7 separate regions of the Homo sapiens genome follow, and all the other regions are linked to region 1. The links are contacts of gene promoters, found by promoter capture Hi-C in blood cells and fetal thymus (Javierre and others, 2016). All regions are on one chromosome and are shown on one strand. The core of a region is centred on a gene start or on the middle of the fragment in contact, and the rest is flanking DNA. Distances in the headings are between cores, read along the strand shown.

What was found. Contacts are between HindIII fragments. The CHiCAGO score rates a contact against its expected background, and 5 or more counts as called.
Region 2: a fragment that was not itself captured here is called in contact with the fragment with the promoter of PCSK7 in region 1 in 5 of 17 cell types (neutrophils, naive B cells, fetal thymus and 2 more); the score reaches 7.1 in neutrophils.
Region 3: a fragment that was not itself captured here is called in contact with the fragment with the promoter of PCSK7 in region 1 in 11 of 17 cell types (naive B cells, naive CD8 T cells, naive CD4 T cells and 8 more); the score reaches 10.4 in naive B cells.
Region 4: a contact is called between a fragment that was not itself captured here and the fragment with the promoter of PCSK7 in region 1, in 3 of 17 cell types (total CD8 T cells, naive B cells and total B cells). The highest score is 6.5, in total CD8 T cells.
Region 5: a fragment that was not itself captured here is called in contact with the fragment with the promoter of PCSK7 in region 1 in 14 of 17 cell types (naive CD8 T cells, naive CD4 T cells, naive B cells and 11 more); the score reaches 11.2 in naive CD8 T cells.
Region 6: a contact is called between a fragment that was not itself captured here and the fragment with the promoter of PCSK7 in region 1, in 16 of 17 cell types (total B cells, naive B cells, naive CD4 T cells and 13 more). The highest score is 18.6, in total B cells.
Region 7: the fragment with the promoter of LNC-RHL1 here is called in contact with the fragment with the promoter of PCSK7 in region 1 in 14 of 17 cell types (naive CD8 T cells, naive B cells, monocytes and 11 more); the score reaches 9.8 in naive CD8 T cells.

What each region holds. Positions count from the first base shown.
Region 1 is chr11:117,230,650-117,233,349 of GRCh38, forward strand. It overlaps PCSK7 (proprotein convertase subtilisin/kexin type 7), which reads right to left and starts at 1,424. Exons shown (of 17, transcript NM_004716.4): 1 at 1,378-1,424. RNF214 (ring finger protein 214) reads left to right here and starts at 2,022. Exons shown (of 15, transcript NM_207343.4): 1 at 2,022-2,077. RefSeq lists enhancers at 113-352, 1,222-1,271 and silencers at 1,462-1,611, 1,822-2,161. The HindIII fragment of the contact is 17,537 bases long and covers 1-2,700 here.
Region 2 is chr11:116,722,959-116,725,799 of GRCh38, forward strand. No RefSeq gene overlaps it. Among named protein-coding and RNA genes, the nearest start is that of BUD13, 49 kb to the right of the region's middle. The HindIII fragment of the contact is 6,964 bases long and covers 1-2,841 here.
Region 3 is chr11:116,746,935-116,749,634 of GRCh38, forward strand. BUD13 (BUD13 spliceosome associated protein) reads right to left here. Exons shown (of 10, transcript NM_032725.4): 10 at 1,239-1,641. The coding sequence ends at 1,548. Among named protein-coding and RNA genes, the nearest start is that of BUD13, 25 kb to the right of the region's middle. The HindIII fragment of the contact is 2,921 bases long and covers 1-2,700 here.
Region 4 is chr11:116,907,670-116,910,369 of GRCh38, forward strand. The region is part of intron 4 of SIK3 (SIK family kinase 3); the gene reads right to left. Among named protein-coding and RNA genes, the nearest start is that of APOA1, 71 kb to the left of the region's middle. The HindIII fragment of the contact is 7,535 bases long and covers 1-2,700 here.
Region 5 is chr11:116,840,043-116,842,742 of GRCh38, forward strand. It overlaps APOA1-AS. Among named protein-coding and RNA genes, the nearest start is that of APOA1, 3.8 kb to the left of the region's middle. The HindIII fragment of the contact is 2,377 bases long and covers 63-2,439 here.
Region 6 is chr11:116,857,465-116,860,164 of GRCh38, forward strand. SIK3 (SIK family kinase 3) reads right to left here. Exons shown (of 25, transcript NM_001366686.3): 20 at 1,801-2,140; 21 at 346-1,235. Among named protein-coding and RNA genes, the nearest start is that of APOA1, 21 kb to the left of the region's middle. The HindIII fragment of the contact is 5,146 bases long and covers 1-2,700 here.
Region 7 is chr11:116,812,826-116,815,727 of GRCh38, forward strand. It overlaps LNC-RHL1 (lncRNA regulator of hepatic lineages 1), which reads right to left and starts at 1,357. Exons shown (of 2, transcript XR_007062898.1): 1 at 1,091-1,357; 2 at 84-628. The HindIII fragment of the contact is 5,163 bases long and covers 1,062-2,902 here.

The DNA of each region.
Region 1 (2,700 bases), core at 174-2,673:
AAAAACCCACTTCCTGTGCTATCGTGCCACCCTCTTTTCATTTTGTTCCCCAGAGGCCTAGCAAAAAACAGTTACCAAAATGCCTCTTGAAAGAGTAGGTAATAACGTCCTAGAAGTCCAGGTGGTAGCTAACTTCTTGATTTGTATATCCCAGAAGGATACCAGGGAAAGTGAAAGGAGGGAGGCGGCGGGGGCGAAACGGGGAAAGCCAGAGAGTGCAAACAAAACAGAACAGGCACCAAGGACAAGCGGGCAACCAGGAGAGAACGAATGATGAGAGAACCTCACTAAGCAGCTACTCCTGTACTGAGCTCAGGAGGCTGGCTTCAAGGTGAGGACTCAGACTCCAGACTGGGACTCCAATTGCCTGGGTTTGACAGAACCAGGGAATTGGTCTCAGGAGCCCTCAAAAAAAAAAAAAAAGAGCCAAGTTAGAACTGGGGGACAGACAAATGGGGTGGCAGGACATGTGTGTACCTATGGTGGCTGGGCTCCTTTAAAAGCCTTTGCTCTCCACTGGGTCCACCCTGGGGCAGGGCTTAGTACTCAGATACACACCCAAGCGGCTCTACCTCAAAGCATTCCAGAAAAATGGGAATTTTACTGAAAGGCTTCCTGGAAAGGAGAACTTATGCCACCTCTCCTTTACCTCTAAAAATCTTCATACTACATTTCTTCCTCTCGTTTTCTCTTAGGTTTCCAGGCATATTCCCTCTCAATCCCTCCCTGCCCCCGGGAGCCTCAATTCTCCCAAGATATTTAGGTGTCTTCCCCAGTCTGCATACTCTACTAAGTAAACAAACTAACAAACAAAACCCTTGTTAGCCAGACAGTGGCCCCGCTAGGCAGACTCCTTCAGACTCAGTAGATCCCACCACAGATGTCAGGAAGAAAGAGAAGCAGGAGCTCCTTCTGTCTACTAGTGGCAAAGCAGCATTTTTATCCCCCAGGCTTCTGGGAAAGGAACCTTAAATGCCTTCTGAAAGCAGGTCTCAACCTCTCCCAACGGCTAGGCCTCCCTTTACAGCTCTTAATTGACAAGGAAGAAGAGAATGGGCAGCCTGGAGTCCAAGATCCTGCTCCCAAGCTACTGTCCTCGCTGTTCCACACCCGGCTCCTAGAAGCCAGCTTGGGTACCGGGTCAGTTTCCCGATTCTCCCTCCGTCGGCCTCGATCGCTCCGTGCAATGTGCCCCTCTCCTCATTAGCACCCACATTATCCAGGAATTCTGGGCCCTGGGGCCCCATCTCCTTGGTCCCCCACGCCAGGACCTCAGGCACCCTCTGTGCAGCTCCCTCATCCTCAGACGCCGGCTTCCCCCACTTCTGGGGCCCCCTGACCACCCAGGTCCAGCCCCACACCTAGTTCCCAACTCACCGGCCCCGCCGCAGCTGCCGCCGCCTCCCTGCGGAAACTCGCGGCTTCCCGGGAGCCGGAGGAGCAGTGACAGCAGCATCACTTCCGCCCGCGGCGCAGCCAATCAGCGCGGCGCCTGCGGCCCGGCGACCCCCGCGGGCCACAGCAACCGGCGCCCGGGGTCCGGCTCCCGCGGGCGGCCTACGCAGGCAGGGGCCGTGCGGGCGCTGGGGGCTGAACCCGCGGGCTCCGCCTCCCCGAGTCCTCGGGGCATCTTCCACATGGTCCCTCTTCAGAAGGCTCTCCTTCATGGCGTCCTCTGTAAAGGGCATTTCGGTTCCGACCTTTAAAAGCCACTCGTTGCTCTTCTCCTTCTGACCGCCATGGCCCCGACTGTCCCTGTAATCTTCCCAGAGGGGATCCTGCCCACCCAGGTCGCCTTCCTTCTCGCAGTCGGCTCTCCCTTCTTCCCCGCGCCCCGGGAGAGTCCACTTGTATCTCAGGGGTCTCCCGCAGCATCCCCGTGCCCCGGCGGCGCCAGCTGTCGCCGCCAGAGGGCGCCGTCGGGGGCGGCGCGGCGCCACCGCGGCCTCTCCTCTCGCGGCCGGAGCCTCGCCCCCTCCGCTCGTGCCGCCGGAAGTGGGAGGTGCCGCGCGCGGGCCGGCGCTCGACCCCTCCCCCCGTGGCTCGGCCGCCCCCTCCCCCCGCTCCGCCCGCTCAGGTGCGTCCCGTCCCTCCCCCACTTTCCTCCCGGGGGCGCGGCGCGGGAGGTGTGTGCGGGGCGAGCGTGGGTGGGGGTTGCGGGGCGAGGGCCGGGCATGGGGGTCGGGTGGGGGGCGTGGAGGGTGCTGTGAGAACCGAGGCGGGGGTCCCGGCCTAGAAGTGGGACGGGGGGGTGGCTGGCAGCGGGGTGGGGGGACCGAGGGGAAGGGGTGGAGGGGGGTCTGGTCCGAGCCAGCGGCCAGCCTAGCAGTCCCCTGTGGGGGGTGGCCAAGGCCACCCAGCGCCGCTTCCCCCCATTGTCCCCTTCCCGTCTGTCCCCTGTTCTCGCCCGAGGACCCGTGGCTCCGGCGCCCCTGCTTCGCTGGTGGTCGCCCCGGGTTGCGGAGTTCTTTTTGGTACACTCGACCCTCCAGCCAGCTGTTCCTACCCGCGCCACGGGCTCTCTAGCCACGGAGTTGCATGCATGGCCCTTGTCCTGGGGTTTCGTTCACCGGGCGCAGAGGACCCCCCAGCCCTGGGCTATGTTGGAGACGGGATGTTTGCACCTGAGGGAGCAGCAATGGCGGTTTGGGCCCATTTTCTCCCAGGAGCTTTGTATAATGAGGGAAACTGAGGCACAGA
Region 2 (2,841 bases), core at 103-2,602, 510 kb before region 1:
CCTCTTAGAAGAAATCCTATCAACCCTTCATGACCTGGCTCCCGCTTCTCTTTCCAGCTGCCTCCTCATTCTCCCTGTGTTTCATCCCTATCAAGGCACTGCCCATTCCCCAGCAGCCACAGCCTCTCATGCTTCCTGCCATCCCTCCTGCCTTCAGGCCTTCCTACACTCCATCTTAGCAGCCTAGGGAGCTCCTCCTGTTTCATCAGTGCCCAGTTTAAATACCCCTCCTCTGGAAAACCTGCCCTGACTGCCCACACCCTACAAGATTAGGTATTTTTTTTCCCCTACGCTCTGCACAGTTTGTGTTGTAATTATTTGTTTACTTCACTGAGACAATGAGCTCCTTGAAGGCAGGAACCATTATCTTTCTTCAGCTTTGTATCACTAAGACCTGGGCTAGACTTTAAAAGTCTGTCTAACGAATACATATTTGAACTAAAAAGATCACAGATACCTCGTCTAGATGCCTGACTCTTGACAAATGTCTAAACTGTTCAGAATGAGACATTTATTCCCTTCCTGACTGTATCTCCAATCCCTGCGATTGAGAAGCAGTGGGGATGGGAGACGTGACCCTCAGCAGGGTGAGTTTCTAGGATCGTGAGCCCAAAGGCCCCGGGTAGTTCCTAACAGGGAGGTGCCTCGGGCTGAGCAGCTGCTGCTGCTCCATGGCAAAGGCTTGCGGTGCTGGAGAGAGCCACAGGCTCTCTTCCCCAGGTCGGGGGCCCAGGTGACCCATCCAGTTGTTGTGCAGGAATATGGAGGGGCTGAAGGGATCCCAGTACCTCTGGACTTCCACAGCAGCCGGGCCCCTTAGAGCATGCCACACAGCCAGCCACAGCCCTGCCTGCCCACCACAAGGGCCTCCCACCCAGCATCCTCTCCTCTCCTGCCCACCCTCTCCTGCTCCCCCAAACCTGCTGACCCCTGGTGGCTTTAGCCTTCCTTGAGAGAGCCAGAAGGGAGAGCATCCATTTTAAATTAACAAGGTTATTAGCAGTTAATTACCTGAGGTATCATTGTAATTGAAAAGAAAAAGAGAGAAGAGAAGCTCATAAACCCAACCCTTTCTTTTCACCATCCCTGGGGTGGTGCGGGTGACCCCGGCCCCCTCCCCACAATAGGGCCCTGCACACACCATTGTCCTTTCTTTCTCCATGTTCCTCCACCTGCCCCCACTTCACAGGGATATTGAGGAGAGGGAACCAGACCCAAGGAGAGCAAGCCACCCGCCCCGCAGGCACTTCAGGGATGCTGAGACACACTTGGAGTCCATAAATGCAGAGAGATTTATCTCATATTGGGGTGTGCAGGGAGGAGGCACAAATCTGAAGCCTTTAGTCAATATTTTTAGTGATTTTTTTTTCCCCTAGATTGTCCTGTTATTCTACAAGTTAGTATGGCTGGCATCTGTCAGCATTAATGATGTTTAGTCCCAAATTCACTGCAACCAGAGATCACAGACCATCTCCCCTCCCTCCTCCCCACTGCCACCCACCCCTGCCCTGAGGACACTGGGCTGCAGGGAGGGGAAGGGGTGCAGAGAGAACACAGAAGACCCCTCCCTCAGGCTGGCCATGTGAACTCCAGCACTTGCTGAAGAGCTCCTGAGGCAAGGATGCCACATGCCAACAGTTCTTGGGTTCGTGTCCTGTCACTGAGACTTCACAGAAGGAGCCCCAGACTCACGGAGTCCGTGAAGTAACCCACCTATAACCCTCACAGCAGCCTCCCATTCTCCCCAAACTCTTCCCTGCCTAGGGTACACCAGAAGGAGGAGCATAACCCAAGAGAGCCAAGAATCCCCCCAAAAAAAATCTCCCCCAAAGGCAAGCAGTAGGTGCAGGTGGCCCACACCCCCTGGCCAGTGGCCTTAGCAGCACTGCTGGGTGTCTGGTGTGGAGGGCAGTGTGGGGGCTGGACGGGTGAGCCCGAGTAGGAAGGCAGCACCCCCAGCTCCTTCATGCCTCTGAGATGCCCTGACTCCTGCCATACCCAGCCACCCTCCCTGTCCTCCTTCCCCCTGCCCCCTTTTCCTTTCCTCTGTAAGGCCCTGGCTCCCTCGCTTAGGCCAAGTCCTCTCTCCTCTGCTACCTACTTTCCTGGGCAGCACTCAGCCCCTCAGTAGTCAGCATTGTCAGGAGCAGACCCCTCACCTCCCTCTCAACCTTCTGGAAGCAACAAGGACAGACAGCAAAGCTGGGGAAGGGCAGAGCGCACAGAAAGCCCACACATAATCGCATATGTGCGCCAGTGTGATTGTATGAAGCATCATGTACATAACAGAAAATGGCATTCTCATGTTAGCCTTTTCAATTGAGCATTTACCATGTGACAGGTAAGTAACATTATTAGCCACATTTTATAAATGGAGAAATCAGGGTTCAGAGACCCTAAGTGATATGTCCAAGAATGAGATAGAGAAGGACATGAACCTAGGCAGTCTGTCTCCAAACTGCCTAACCCCTCCATTAATATGCCTTCCAACAATGTCTGCCGTGGTGGGGGTGGGGGTGAGGGTGGGGAGGAGATGGTCAGGAGTCAAGGTGCGTTTCAACTTTCCCCTCCCCACTCCGTGTGGGAGGCTGCTGCTCGACACAGCACCAGAGAGAGCCCTTCCTCTTCTCCCTGACAGGCTGAGGAACAAGGGGCAGAGTCCTTGCTAGGGAGGCCAAGCCACCGGGCACCGTCTCCCCGACCAGGGCCCTCACCCAGGGCGCTGGACCTCATCCTCCCTGTCCAGCTCCCTGCCCTTCCGTCCACACTCCCAAGGGCAAAGGGACCCCGCCGGGTCAGGGAAAGGAAAGAACCAGCCTTGCTCCCCTGTTTCCCCACCTG
Region 3 (2,700 bases), core at 58-2,557, 480 kb before region 1:
CACTATTAAAAACTGCAATATCGCTCCCTAGGTATTACTTGATTTCAGTAAGTTTCATTCATTTGTTCTCCAAAATGAATACACCAGCTGAAATATTCCATGTAGCCGGGCACAGTGGTTCATGCCTGTAACCCCAGCACTTTGGGAGGACAAGGCGGGCGGATCACCTGAGGTCAGGAGTACGAGATCAGCCTGGCCAACATGGTGAAACCCCATCTCTACTAAAAAAACAAAAATTGTGTAGCGCATGCCTACAGTCCTGGCTACTCAGGAGGCTGAGGTGGGAGGATTGCTTGAACCTGGGAGGCAGAGGCACCACTGCACTCCAGCCTGGATGACAGAGTAAGACTCTGTCTTTTTAAAAAAAAAAAAAAAAAGAAAGAAAGGAAAAGAGAAAAGAAAAGAAGAGAAAATATTCCATGAGTTCTGATTCCCCATCAGATCAGTCTCTTGCTTATTTTTGCCAAACTAAGATGTAAGGTAGAAACTCAGTGTTTTAATTAGCGTATCTGTAATTACTAGTGAGGTAATATACTTATGAGCCACTCTGGTTTTCTCTTTAGATTTTACCTATTCATATTTTTGCATATTTTTATTTCATCTGTCTTTTTCTTCATGATTTGCAGAAGCTCTTTCTATATTCTATCCCTTGTATATGCAATCCTTGTCAGTTTTAGACACTGCAAATATTTTCTCCTAATCCGTATCCATCTTTAGCTTTGACTATGGGATGCTTTGCTAAATAGAAACCTTTAATTACAAAGTAATCAAAGCTATCAAATCTTATGCATTGTGCTTTGGGATCTTATTTAAGAAATTTATCTTTACCCCAAGGCACAAAAACATTTGCCATTTGTTCCTACTAGCTGTATATCACGTTATCTTTCATTTAGGTCTTTAATCACTTTGGGATTTTTGTTTTATATGGTATGAGGGTTCAACTTTATTTTTGTCCATATAATAAGCCAATTTTCTGAGCACTATTATCCATCTCTTCCCTACTAACTTGTGACACTATCTTTATCATACACCATGTCTCCAAATATCTGTGTGTCTATTCCTGAGTCTAGTTTAGTACTAATTCCTGTTTTCTCAGAGGAAGGATCTATCACTAAGAAAGTTTTTACTCACACTGCTTTCTAGATTAGTGAAAAATTCAACCACCACCCCCCAAATCCCCACAGGTTCAATATTAGCCTGTATTCTTCCCAAAACAGAATACCCAGTTAAGAAGATAATTTTAAAAAAATAAATACATGTTTATTTAAAAAAGAAAAAGAAAAACCCTACCAAGAACAAACCCTGGTCAATGAGAAATCAATGCTTCCTCTGAAAGCCAGCAACAGCCGGTGCTGTCACACCCAAGAAGTACAGGTACCTCAGTCCAAACATCAGGTCTCGAATATTCTTCTGTGGTCAAAACTGGCATTCAACAAGTTGCTGGTCTGTGTGGGCTCCAATTATTAGCACAGACAACTGTTACCACTGGATATCTCGCTGCCTATGCCCACTACCACAGCCCAGCCACCCCCACAGCCTCAGGAAAGTTACATATCCTCAACACTCCATTTGTAGGCAAGTTCCTCCACTGCCTTCTTGCTGGCAAGCCTGGCAAAGCGCTTCTGTTCAAATCCATTGGATCTGCAATCAAAAGAGACATACTATTCAGCTAGAACCCTGAAAGGGGCATTTGTTTCAAAAGAAAGGGAAGAGTTCACAATATAATGAAAAGGGGGGAAAGTAAGGAGTCATATGAAAATATTTTAGGCATGGCCGGGCACGGCGGCTCACGCCTGTAATCCCAGCACTTTGGGAGGCCAAGGCGGGTAGATCACGAGGTCAGGCATTCAAGACCAGCCTGCCTAATATGGTGAAACCCTGTCTCTACTAACAATACAAAAATTAGCCAGGTGCAGTGGCAGGTGCCTGTAATCCAGCTATTCGGGAGGCTGACGCAGGAGAATCGCTTGAACCTGGACAGCAGAGGTTGCAGTGAGCGGAGATCGTGCCACTGCACTCCAGCCTGGGTGACAGAGACTCTGTCTCAAAAAAAAAAAAAAAAAAAAAGAAAGAAAGAAACAAAAAAGAAAAGAAAATATTTAAGGCATATGCAATAGAATCAAAGGGACAAAATATATCATTCATCCTTTTCTTAGTCCTTGTTCACACCCTTCCCCCACTCTGACAGCTATTTCAAACGTTTGCCACTCTAAAAGCCTGGTTCTCTCTCAGCTGATGTCCACATCTTATATTTTATCCATTCATTACACAAACATTTATTGAATTTTCATTATATACTAGGTACCATGGTAGACACTACATGAAAATGAGTATGACACAGCACCTGTCCTGATGAACTCCCAGACTAGTGGAAGAGAGAGACATTTAAACAAATAAATTAAAAGAACAGCATAAACTCTGGTAGAAATACGCATGGGGTGTCATGGAAACAGAATGGGTATCTTAATCAGCTTGGGGGAGGTATGATAAAAAGGTGACATGAGGGTTGGGCAAGAATGATCAGTAAAGGCTCTGTGTTAACTACAGCACTGGGGATGGAAGGGCCAGAAAGGGTCTGGAGGTCATTTCAGAACAGAATGAGCAACAAGAACAAAGGCACGGAAATAAGAAGTGGCCTGGTATGTGCAGCAAACCAAAGGCAAACTGGTATGGCTGGAACCTGAAGTATGACAAAGGGAA
Region 4 (2,700 bases), core at 60-2,559, 320 kb before region 1:
TTCCTTAGTTATTACAGTTTACTGTTTTTCATTTTATTATTGACTGCCACCCTTTGCTCTGCTTATGTTAATTCCCAAAGACACATAATGCTTCAGGAATACTGCGTCAAGTTTCTTTTAAAAACATGCATAGAAAAGAATGGTAGACACTGTATATCAATGGGAAAAGGATAAATTTCTCAAAAAGTGGCACAGGAACAACTCGTTATTCATATGGAAAAAAATTACAGAGGCTGCCATCCTCACACTCTATCCCCAAATTAATTCCAGGTGGATTATAGCCCTAATGTGAAAGGTAAAACTATCACGTTTTTATTTAAAAAAAAAAAAAAAAAGCAGGTATCTTTACGGCCTCAGGGGATGGAAGAATTTCTCAAACAAGAAACAAAAAGTGCTAATCATAAAGGGAAAAGTGGTAAACTTCGTTACATTAGAATTATGCCAAAATTTATACACACGTTAAACAGAAAGTGAGAAACCACAAAGTGAGGGAGGATATTTGTAACTTATAAAATAAAGGACTCGGCTGGACGTGGTGGCTTACTCCTGTAATCCCAGCATTCTGGGAGGCCAAGACAGGAGGATTGCTTGAGCTCAGTAGTTTAAGACCAGCCTGGGCAAATACAGGGAGACCTCGTCTTCACAAAAACTAAATATAAATTAGCCAGGCATGGTGGTGTATGCCTGTGGTCCCAGCTACTCGAGAGGCTGAGGCAAGAGGATTGCCTGAGCCTAGGAAGCCGAGACTGCTGTGGGCTGTGATCACGCCACTGCACTGCAGCCTGGGTGATGGAGTGAGACCCTATCTCAACAACCAACCAACCAATCAATCATCAAAAAACAAAAAACAAACAAACAAAAAAAACAAAGGACTTGTATCCAGACTATCAAAAAGAAACAAACTCCTATAAATCAATAAGACCAATAGAGAATCCAGTAGAAAAATGAGCAAAAGACTATTGACAATTGACAAAAAAAGGCCAAGAGACACAAAAAGAAGCTCAATCTCATTATTAAAGAGAAACAGTAAAAATTAAAACCACAACAAGATAATCATTACACAGTTGCCAGATGGGCAAAAATTTAAGAGTAGATAATAACAAGCACTGGAGAGGACATGGAGCAAGTGGAACTCTCACACCTACTGGAAACAGTTCAGCATTACCAAATAAAACCTAAAAACACACACCATATGACCCAGCAATTTCACTTCTCAGTTTACACTCTTAAATGTTTAAGAATACACACTAATGTTTAAGAGTATACCAGGATAAATGTTTAGGAATGTTCGTTGCAGCTGTTAGTAAGTGCCCCAAACTGAAAGCAATAGGGGCTTCTGCTTTTAAAATAGCTATTAATAGGTACAATGGAAAAATAACTTGTGGTATATTCATATCATGGAATACTATATAGAAATAAAAATGAATAAATCGCAGCTATACAAACAACATGGATAAATCTCACAGACTGTTGGATGAAACAGACAAAAAATAATATAATCAATATGATTCTATTCATGTATCATTCAAAACAAGCAAAACTATATTGTTTAAGGATGGACCCACTACACATTATATTCAGTATAAATGGCATCCCTTGGAGCAAAACTCCTAAGTAATGCATTACATCAGTGGCAAAACTACTAAAAGAAAAAAAAAAACACCTATAAAGTAGAGCACATAAGTGATTAACACAAAAGTACAAAAAAAATTTTTTTTCTCTTGGGGGAAGGATATGGTTGTGATGAGGTGTACAGCCTGGCTGATGAAATTTTCTAGTTTTTTGACCTGAGTGCCAATTACTACACAGGTATTTGCTTCTAGTGATTCACTAAAGTATACACAGATGCTTAAAGAAAATTTATGTATAAACATAATATTTCATAATAAATGAAAGACAAAAGAGACAAGAATAGCTCCTTTTCCTCCTCCACTGCTATTTCTCGCCACTTGGAACCACTGCTCTGGGATCTAAGCTCCACAATCATTAGGGCTTTTGAGGGCAGAGGTTTTTCTCACCACTGATTTCCTAGGGCCTAGCACAGTGCTGACAGGAAGAGAAAGCACTCAATAAATATCTTAAAACAACTCACTGACTAACTAAGAACAGAGAGGGTGGGAGAAAGGGAAGAAAAGAGCGATACAGTTTGAAATAGGAAATGAATGTATCAGAACTCAGAGTGTAGGAACTGGGAACTACTTGGTAAGACAGAGATCTCAACTAAAGTTTTTGTTGAAAATAGCAATTTTCATATATGAAGAAAAACTGTAATCTAGGAAGAATATATACAATGATGAAGTTTCCAGTTATCATTAAATATAATTTTAAAGGAAGAGTAAATATTTTAGTGATAGGTATAATCATTAATGCTAAAATGGCAATTAGGTGTGAGTGATATGCTTATTAGTCACATGATTGAAAATATTAGTATTACTCCCACACTAATAACTATTTCTCAGTAACCCATATTAGTAAGAGACAAAGCTAGTATACACTACATATAATTTAAAAATTCATTTTTGTCTATAATATCACTTGCTTCCTTAGTTCTAACAAGAGCTGTTAACGAAGAACACTAAAAAAAATTAGGTTTTCCTTCTTTTCCTTCAATATGTAAACTATCAAATGAAAAAACATAGCCAGAAAAGAAGAAAAAAAAACCTAGATAATATTTTTAAAAACCTGTATAACTGAAAGTTG
Region 5 (2,700 bases), core at 1-2,500, 390 kb before region 1:
GAGAGCGTCTTTTCTTTTGGGGGGTAGAGTTTGTCCCAGTCAGCACATGGGGGAATCTCAGAAGCTTACTGGTTGGACTCCAAGATACTTGCCAGTGTTTCACCCTTCTCTTTGGTTTGTTACTAAAATGATTGTTATGGCTAAACCTAGTATTTAACATTTGCGCAGTTCTTTGTGGCCAAAGCACTTTCACAACTTAGAATATCCCTATAAGGCTGGAGGCCAGATTTTACCCTTGTGATTTTTGCCTGTGGGAAAACTGCAGCTCACAGCTGCCCTGCATCCTTCAGCGGTTACTATTTAGCGCTGGCAGGGGTGGGAATCGGGAGGCCTGGCTTCTAGTTCTTTGAGGGTGGCCTTGCACCCTTGCGGAGCCTGCAGCCTTTGCAGTCTGATCAGGGACTTCTCAGTTTCCTGGCTCAGGGACTGCGAGGCATCAGGATAGGGGGTGCTGTTGAACAGCATCTTACCAAGCAGGCAGTTTCCTTTTCTAAATATACTTATTCACCAGGGTGGCTACTCCATTTTATTGCAAGGTATTTGGCTTAAACTAGTCTAAGCCCCCTTTACTAATATTTTGGAAAGGAAGGAGGTCTTTCTGGACAGAGCTGATGGAAAAATACATAACAACAACAACGACAATAACAAACTGGGTTGATGACACACTCAGACTCAGGGTCCAGCCAGGCATTGTTCAAGGCACTCAGTGGCCACGGGTTGGACTGTTTGGTGGCTGCGGGGCCCACAGTGTAGGCCCCTGTTTCCACCCATTTCTTTCCCTCGTCTTGGGAGTCTCCAGAGCGACTGCTCCTGAACAGGGTTACCAAGTCCTGGCCCTGGATGCCCTGACATGTGTAGGAGTGTTGGCGGTGACCGCAAGAGTGGATTTTGCACAGAAAGATTAGCAACTCCTTTCACAATTTATGTCCAAACATACTGGTCCATCTGTATCGGGAGGACTCTGTCCCCTGCTAGGTCTGGCACATAACAGACACCTGCCAAACATCTGCTCAGTGAATGGCACTGGCACCCTAGAGGGAGGGTCACCAGCCTGGTCATAGGGAGGAGTGGGTCCTGGGAGGGGAGGCAGTCTCATACCAGCCCCTGCTCAGAACGTTTCTTCTGGGAGCACGTGGTATGAGCCAGAATGAGAGTTAGGGAGGGGAGGTGGTGACTGAGCAGGGGAGACAGGACCCCCACCCCCAGTAGTTCCTACTTTTGGCAATTTTGCTGCAGCTTTTGTGATAGAGCCCCAAGTTAGACCCTTGGGTGGGGCACCGTAGCCAGCTATGCAAGATTCTCTCCTGCCCTCCTGCTTGGAAAAGACTAAGGCCAGGACAGAGCTCATCTTTGATCAGCAGGAGGGAAGCACAGTAGCCCTCTGAGTTCTTGATCTTTGCAGTTGGGGTGGGGTGGGGGCTGGCACAAAGTCAGAAAGAAAACTGTGTAGAGCACGGTTTTCTGTCAACATGGCTCCTGTTTTCTGGAGCTAAGCTCTCCAGTCTGTATCCAGGAGCCAGTGCCCTGCTTCCTACAAAAGCTCACCCTACCTCTGGTCCAAAGGCACCCTGGCTGATTTTAGGAGGGAGTGGCACCTATTGCAACAGGTGCTACAATTTGCTGGAAGGCATCTGGGTATTATCACTGTTTGATTCTAGAGACTCACCTAGTCTTGCATGACAGCGTATACAGACTCAGAGGAGTTTTAGAAGGCCCTTCTTTTTTTTTTTTTTTTTTTTGAGACGGAGTCTCGCTCTGTCGCCCAGGCTGGAGTGCAGTGGCGGGATCTCGGCTCACTGCAAGCTCCGCCTCCCGGGTTCACGCCATTCTCCTGCCTCAGCCTCCCAAGTAGCTGGGACTACAGGCGCCCGCCACTACGCCCGGCTAATTTTTTGTATTTTTAGTAGAGACGGGGTTTCACCGTTTTAGCCGGGATGGTCTCGATCTCCTGACCTCGTGATCCACCCGCCTCGGCCTCCCAAAGTGCTGGGATTACAGGCGTGAGCCACCGCGCCCGGCCAGAAGGCCCTTCTTGAGAAGGCTCTTTTCTTCTCTAATCTAAATGGCCCTACAGCAACTTTCTAGCCGCCCTCATGGACTTGAAATCTTTCTTTTCTCTTTGCAGGAGTGCAGTGGTGCGATCACAGCTCACTGCAGCCTCAAACTCCTAGGCTCACATGATCCTTCAGCCTCAGCCTCCTGAGCAGCTGGGACTACAGGCATGTGCCACCAAGCCTGGTTATTTTTTGTAGAGGTGGGGGTCTTGCTATGTTGCCCAGGTTGGACTCCAACTCCTGGGTTTACCTAATTCTCCTGCCTCAGCCTCCTGAGCAGCTGGGATTACAGGCGCACGCCACCATGCCCAGCTTGGAAGGCTTTCTAAATTCCCTCCTCTCATTCTTCCTTCTGTGAACTCAGATGGTCTTTCCAGCTTCAGTAAGCTTTCTTCATAGAAGACCTTCAACCACCTGTCTCTTAGCCATGCCTGGAAACTTGCTGGAAACTCTACCCTGCCCTTTGGAGTTCAGGTGTGGGATAAAGGAGAAAACTATAGGAAAATTCCACCCCCGCTCCGCTTTTTTTTTTTTTTTGAGATGTAGTATCCCGCTGTCACCCAGGCTAGAGTGCAGTGGTGCAATCTTGGCTTGCTGCAGTAACCTCTGCCTCCTGGGTTCAAGCCATTCTCCTGTCTCAGCCTCC
Region 6 (2,700 bases), core at 127-2,626, 370 kb before region 1:
AATTATGTTGGGCTGACTTTTTTTCTATTGCACAAGTTTAAAGTTAGCTGTTTGGATGGCAGTCAGGAATTTCTGGATTCCAAGAAACTGTGGTATGAATAAGGGAAATGGATCATCTATCTTATTGACTAAGTGTTAATTTTGTATCATGGTCCTTTGATTTTGAAAATGGACCCCTTGCCCACCAATACCCACTTCCTACATGCTTCTCCCCAAGAAGGTCGTGAAGCTCAGAAATTCTTTTTTTCTTAGGAACACAGAATACTAGCTGAAAAAAGATAACATTACTGAGTCAGTTGATTAGGGCAGACTGGCCCAGGACTTCCACTGTGAGGAGACACTTACCTCTGCTGGGCACCTTATTTTTACTGAATGCAGCAGTTGGCTGATGACCATAGGGATGTATCCCCAATTCTTGGGCATGACTCACAGTTCCTAGCAAAGATTCAGGGTCCCCAGGTCCACCGGTACTCAAGAGCAGAGGGCTGTCATGGCAACCTTTGGTCAATGTACTTGAACTCTTACTGTCTTGGAAGCCATCCTTGGCCCCCTCACACGAGCAGTCCTCCTCCATGCTCTCTGAATGCATCAGTGCCGGCTGGTGAGCATACCCGTGGGGCGGGGTGGGTGAGGAAGCCTGTGAGACACATTCTTGTGCCCTGATTTGTAGCAGATGCTGGGGGCTGGTGTGATGGTGATAAGAGTCAGCATTTTGATAAGATAAAGCCTGGCGCTCTGTCATGCTCTGTCCCCCAAGGCTGGGAGCCAGACTCCCCGCATCCCCTTGGTTCATGTGCCTGAACAGTTCCTGGTATTCTTGCTGTTGCTGCTGTTGCTGCTGCTGCTGCCGTTGTTGCTGCTGCCTTTTAATGAGCTGTGCAAACTCTGTTGGGGGCAGCCGGATGTCCGAGTGGCCGGTGAGCGAATGCCGGGGAGAAAGCAGTCCTTGAAGGATGTGGGGTACCTGCTGGTGTCTTGTATAGTCTGGCGGCGTGGGAGACAGCAGGGCCTGCTGTAGTGCCGACGTGGTATAGTGTGGCGGCTGCTGATGTGCACTGGGAGGGAAGGTGGGGAATTGGTCAAGTGGAGGGACTTTCAGGGCTTGGGTTGGAGAGAACCCCACTCCTGTTGAAGGGCTGTAGCTGCTGGGGGAACCCCGGGACTGGTCCGAAAACAGATGGGGGTGTAAATGCGCCTGGTCGTAGTTAGCAGGGGAGAACCGATTCACGTTCAAGCTGCAGACACAAAAGGGAGTACCAGACATCCATGTAACAAGTACTAGACTTCCTGGGAACAGCTCCTCCTCCTCAGTAGGGAGAACCCACTGGTACAGAGAACTGTGGTGTGACAGAGAAGTGGCAGATGTATGCATTGTCCCTATTTATTCCATTACTGGCTTGTCCAGTAACCTCCAAGGGACTGAGGGCACTGCGTGGGTAATAGATCTAGCTCATTTTGAAGGAAGCAACTTCAAGATGCTCCCTTCAAGAAAAGGGGAACTGGAATTTTTATACATTCCTCTAACAGGCCATTTTCTTCTTTGCAAGCAAATAATAAGGTAGCAAATAATAAGGTAGCTTTCCCATTTTCCACCTCAGTCTCATTAGAATTTTAACCCTGGGTCAATAAAAAGCTGACAAGTTCATTCCAAACCCAGCATCCTGATTTTAGAAAGCGTGAAACAAGAGCACAGCCTAGTCAGACCCATTCTCCTTCCCTCCTTTTCTCTCACTCTGCTAAGGGGCTTCCTCCCACCTGGATCCCATGCATAGATGGCTGGGTGACGTTAGGCGGTCTTACCTGTGAGCCTCTGCACTGTCAGCACTCAGCTGCTTGGACAAGGGACGGTGCCCATAGCTGAGGGTGGCCATCAGGTTGGTACGGTGCTGCATCTGCATCTGACCAGCACTGGGGCTGATGGAGATGCCGCGCCCACTGGAGCCTGCAGCTGTGCCTGGCATGTTGCTGAGCATGTCAACAGGCTCTTGGACTTGGATGGTGACCTGCTGTGACTGAGCAGGCTGCTGCATACCCAAGCAGGTTAGTGCCACGTTGGGAGGAGAGGAACAGTTCTCAGGTTGCTGCTGAAAGATTGCACTGCGGGAAGGTAAGCCTTGAAACTGGGAAGAAGATGCAGCCCCTGGAGAGAAAGGAACCTCAGAGTGACCAAGTGCCCAGGCCACCAGCCAGCCAGAAGTAATGAGAGCTAATGAGAATACTCAGACGACATACCAGCTAGAACAGTGCTTCTCAAACTGCACTGAGCATAGGACAAGTCTGGAGAACTTGTTAAACAGAAGATTCCTGGGTCCTATCTATATAATTCTGTTTCAAACTCTGATTCAGTAGGTCAGGATGGGCCCCTAAGAATTTGTGTTTCCAACAAGTTCCCTTAAAAGCTGGTCCATGGATTACATGGGGTAACTCGGATCTAGGCAGTGCTTCTTGAACTTTCACATGCACACAAATGGCCTGGCATCTGGTTAAAAATGCAGACTCTAGGCCGGGCGTGGTGGCTCACACCTGTAATCCCAGCACTTGGGAGGCCGAGGTGGGCGGATCATGAGGTCAGGAGTTCGAGACCAGCCTGGCCACCATGGCGAAACCCTGTCTCTACTAAAAATACAAAAATTAGCTGGGTGTGGTGGCGGGCGCCTGTAATCCCAGCTACTTGGGAGGCTGAGGCAGGAGAATCATTTG
Region 7 (2,902 bases), core at 107-2,606, 420 kb before region 1:
CAAAGTGTAGAAGCTATGTTAAGAAAGATTCCAGTTTAATGATTTTTGAAAGAGCAGTAAAAATAAGACCAAGATGTGGAAGCTGTATTGAGAAAGATCCAATTTAATTCTAATAATCTTTAACAGAATTGCCCAAAGATAGAATGAATTGTTTTGAGAGATGGTACAGTTAGCTGTCAGTGGGAGTGTTCAATACTAAGCAAGATTCACTCGCTCAACCATTGAGTGATGACCACATGCAGGCACTGTGCTAGGCTCTCTGTATTTTCAGTAAGCTATTGTTGTACAACAAAGCACCCTAAAACAGTGTCTTAGAACAACAGTAAATGTTTATGATCTCTCACAAAGTCTGTGGGTCAGCAGCTTGGCTGTGTGTTTCTGGTTCAGAGTCTGTCATGAGGTTGCATCTGAAGGCTTGGCTGAGGCTGGAGGATCTGTTTCCAAGGTGAATCACTTTACATGGCTGGCAAGTTGGTGCTAGCTGTTTGGAAGGGGCTTCAGTTCCCCCCTGTGTTGACCTCTTCACAGGGCTGCTTGCACGTCCTCCCAACATGGCAGCTATCTTCCCTCAGAATGAGTGATCCAAGAGAAATCAAGGTAGGTGCCACAATGCCCTTTATGATCTAGACTTAGAAGTGAAATACCATGACATAGCCTATTGATCACACATCAGCCACCATTGTGAGGGCTAGCTACCACATCCTGCAAATACAATGATGAACAAACAAATGGTGTGCCTGAGCTCGAGGGCTGTTAGCCTAGAGTTAAGATCATTCCTTAAATGATATCAAAGGAATTAGGGCTGAGAGACAAGGTTGTTCCCTCCAACCCTAATGCCCTGTGATCTTATGATTCCAGGTCCTAGGTCTTTTGTTCCCATATCACCAATCCATTATCTCAGAACCAGCAGCTCACCAAACCCTCGCTCCTCAGATGTGGGCCATTCGGGGGTTTTTATTGTGCCCCTGCATTGTCAGCTACTTGTCATCACACAGCAAGATAGCATGACTCCACCCTGCACGCTCTCAGACAGGAGACAAGGGAGTGCCCAAATAACCCTAAGCTTGTTGTTTCTGTCCCCAGGACATACCTCAGCCTCCTCCTGGGAGCACAGGGCATACTATGATAACAGCAGGAGGACACGGCGTCCCCATGCAGGAGCTGCTTTTGATCCTGCCAGGACAATCCCTCAAGAGCAGCAAGGCCCTGTATGTACAGGAAGAGAGTGGCCCTCAGATCACTTCCCTTTGCCCTAATCAGGGCCACGTAGTACACCAGAGACCTCAGGGGTAGTGACCCTGGATGTTCTCAGAGGACTTCTGACCTTTGAACTTGGGGATGGGCATAGGAGTGTGGCTAGCATCTCAGCCTGGCCCAAACCAGTGCTGGTCAGCATGCCTTTGAGGCACTAACCCAGGCCCACAGAGGAGTCATCTACTTCCAAGTCACCTGAGGAGCCAGTGGTGACCAGGGAGATAATGGCCTGAAATTGTGCTGGCTCTGAGGGACTGTTGGGTAAGCTAATGTGGGCTGGGCTGGAGTTCAAACACACCTCCCTGGTGCCCACAGGGACCTCCCAGCACACGCTCTCCTATGGGTCTCAATGATTCAGTCTTTCCTGGTGGCATAGACTGTAGCCTGGAGAAGCTCTGGGGAATATTTCTTTTCTTACTTATTTCTGGTTTTAAAAGTACTACTCTCAGGATGACTATTGTTAAAAACAAAATAAAACAAAACCAAAAAATAACAGAAAACAACAAGCGTTGGAGAGGCTGTGAAGAAATTGGAACCCTGGGCGTCACCAGTGGGAATGTGAAATGGTGCCACTACTATAAAAAAACAGTTTGGCGGTTCCTCCAAAATTTAAATATAGAATTACCGTGTGACCCAGCAATTCCACTTCTGGATATTTGCTCAGAAGAATTGAGAGCAAGGACTGGAAAGATATGTGTACACCCCCATTCATAGCGGCAGTTTTCACAATTGCTTAATGGATAGAGTTTTCTGTTTGGGGTGATGAAAAGATTTTCAGAAATAGTGGTGGCGGTGGTTGCACAACATTGTAAATGTAATTAATGCCACTGACTTGAACACCTATAAATAGTTTAAATGGTAAATTTTATGTTATAAAAGTAATACTAAAGTGGTGGCATTTTTTTCTTTTCTTCTTCTTCTTTTTTTTTTTTTTCTTGAGACAGGGTCTTCCTCTGTTGCCCAGGCTGGACTGCAGTGGCATGATCTCAACTCACCCCAGCCTCAACCTCCTGGGCTCAAGCAATCCTCCCACCTCAGTCTCTCGAGTAGCTTGGACCACAGGTGTGCACCACCACACTTGGCTAATTTTTGTATTTTTTGTAGAGACAAGTTTTCGCCATGTTGCCAGGCTGGTCTCGAACTCCTAGGCTCAAGCAATCCACCTGTCTCAGCCTCCCAAAGTGCTGGGATTACAGGTGTGAGCCACCACACCTGGCCTAAAATGGCATATTTTTTTCTTTCTCTTCTTTTTTTTTTTTTTGGAGACAGAGTCTCACTCTGTCACCCAGGCTGGCAGTGGCATGATCTCGGCTCACTGAAATCTCCGTCTCCCGAGTTCAGGCGATTCTCCTGCCTCAGCCTCCCTAGTAGCTGAGATTGCAAGCACGCACCACAAAGCCCAGCCAATTTTTGTATTTTTAATAGAGGAGGGGGTTTCGCCATGTTGGCCAGGCTGGTCTTGAACTCCTGACCTCAAGTGATCCACCCGCCTTGGCCTCCCAAAGCGCTGGTAAAAAAAAAAAAAAAAAAAAAAAAAAAAAAATCCCATTCCACCACTTGCTAGGTAATGTACCTCACCATTCTGAAGTGCCTCTTCCTCATCTATTGTGTCTTTGATGTGATGGTCGATCATGAGAATTATATGAGC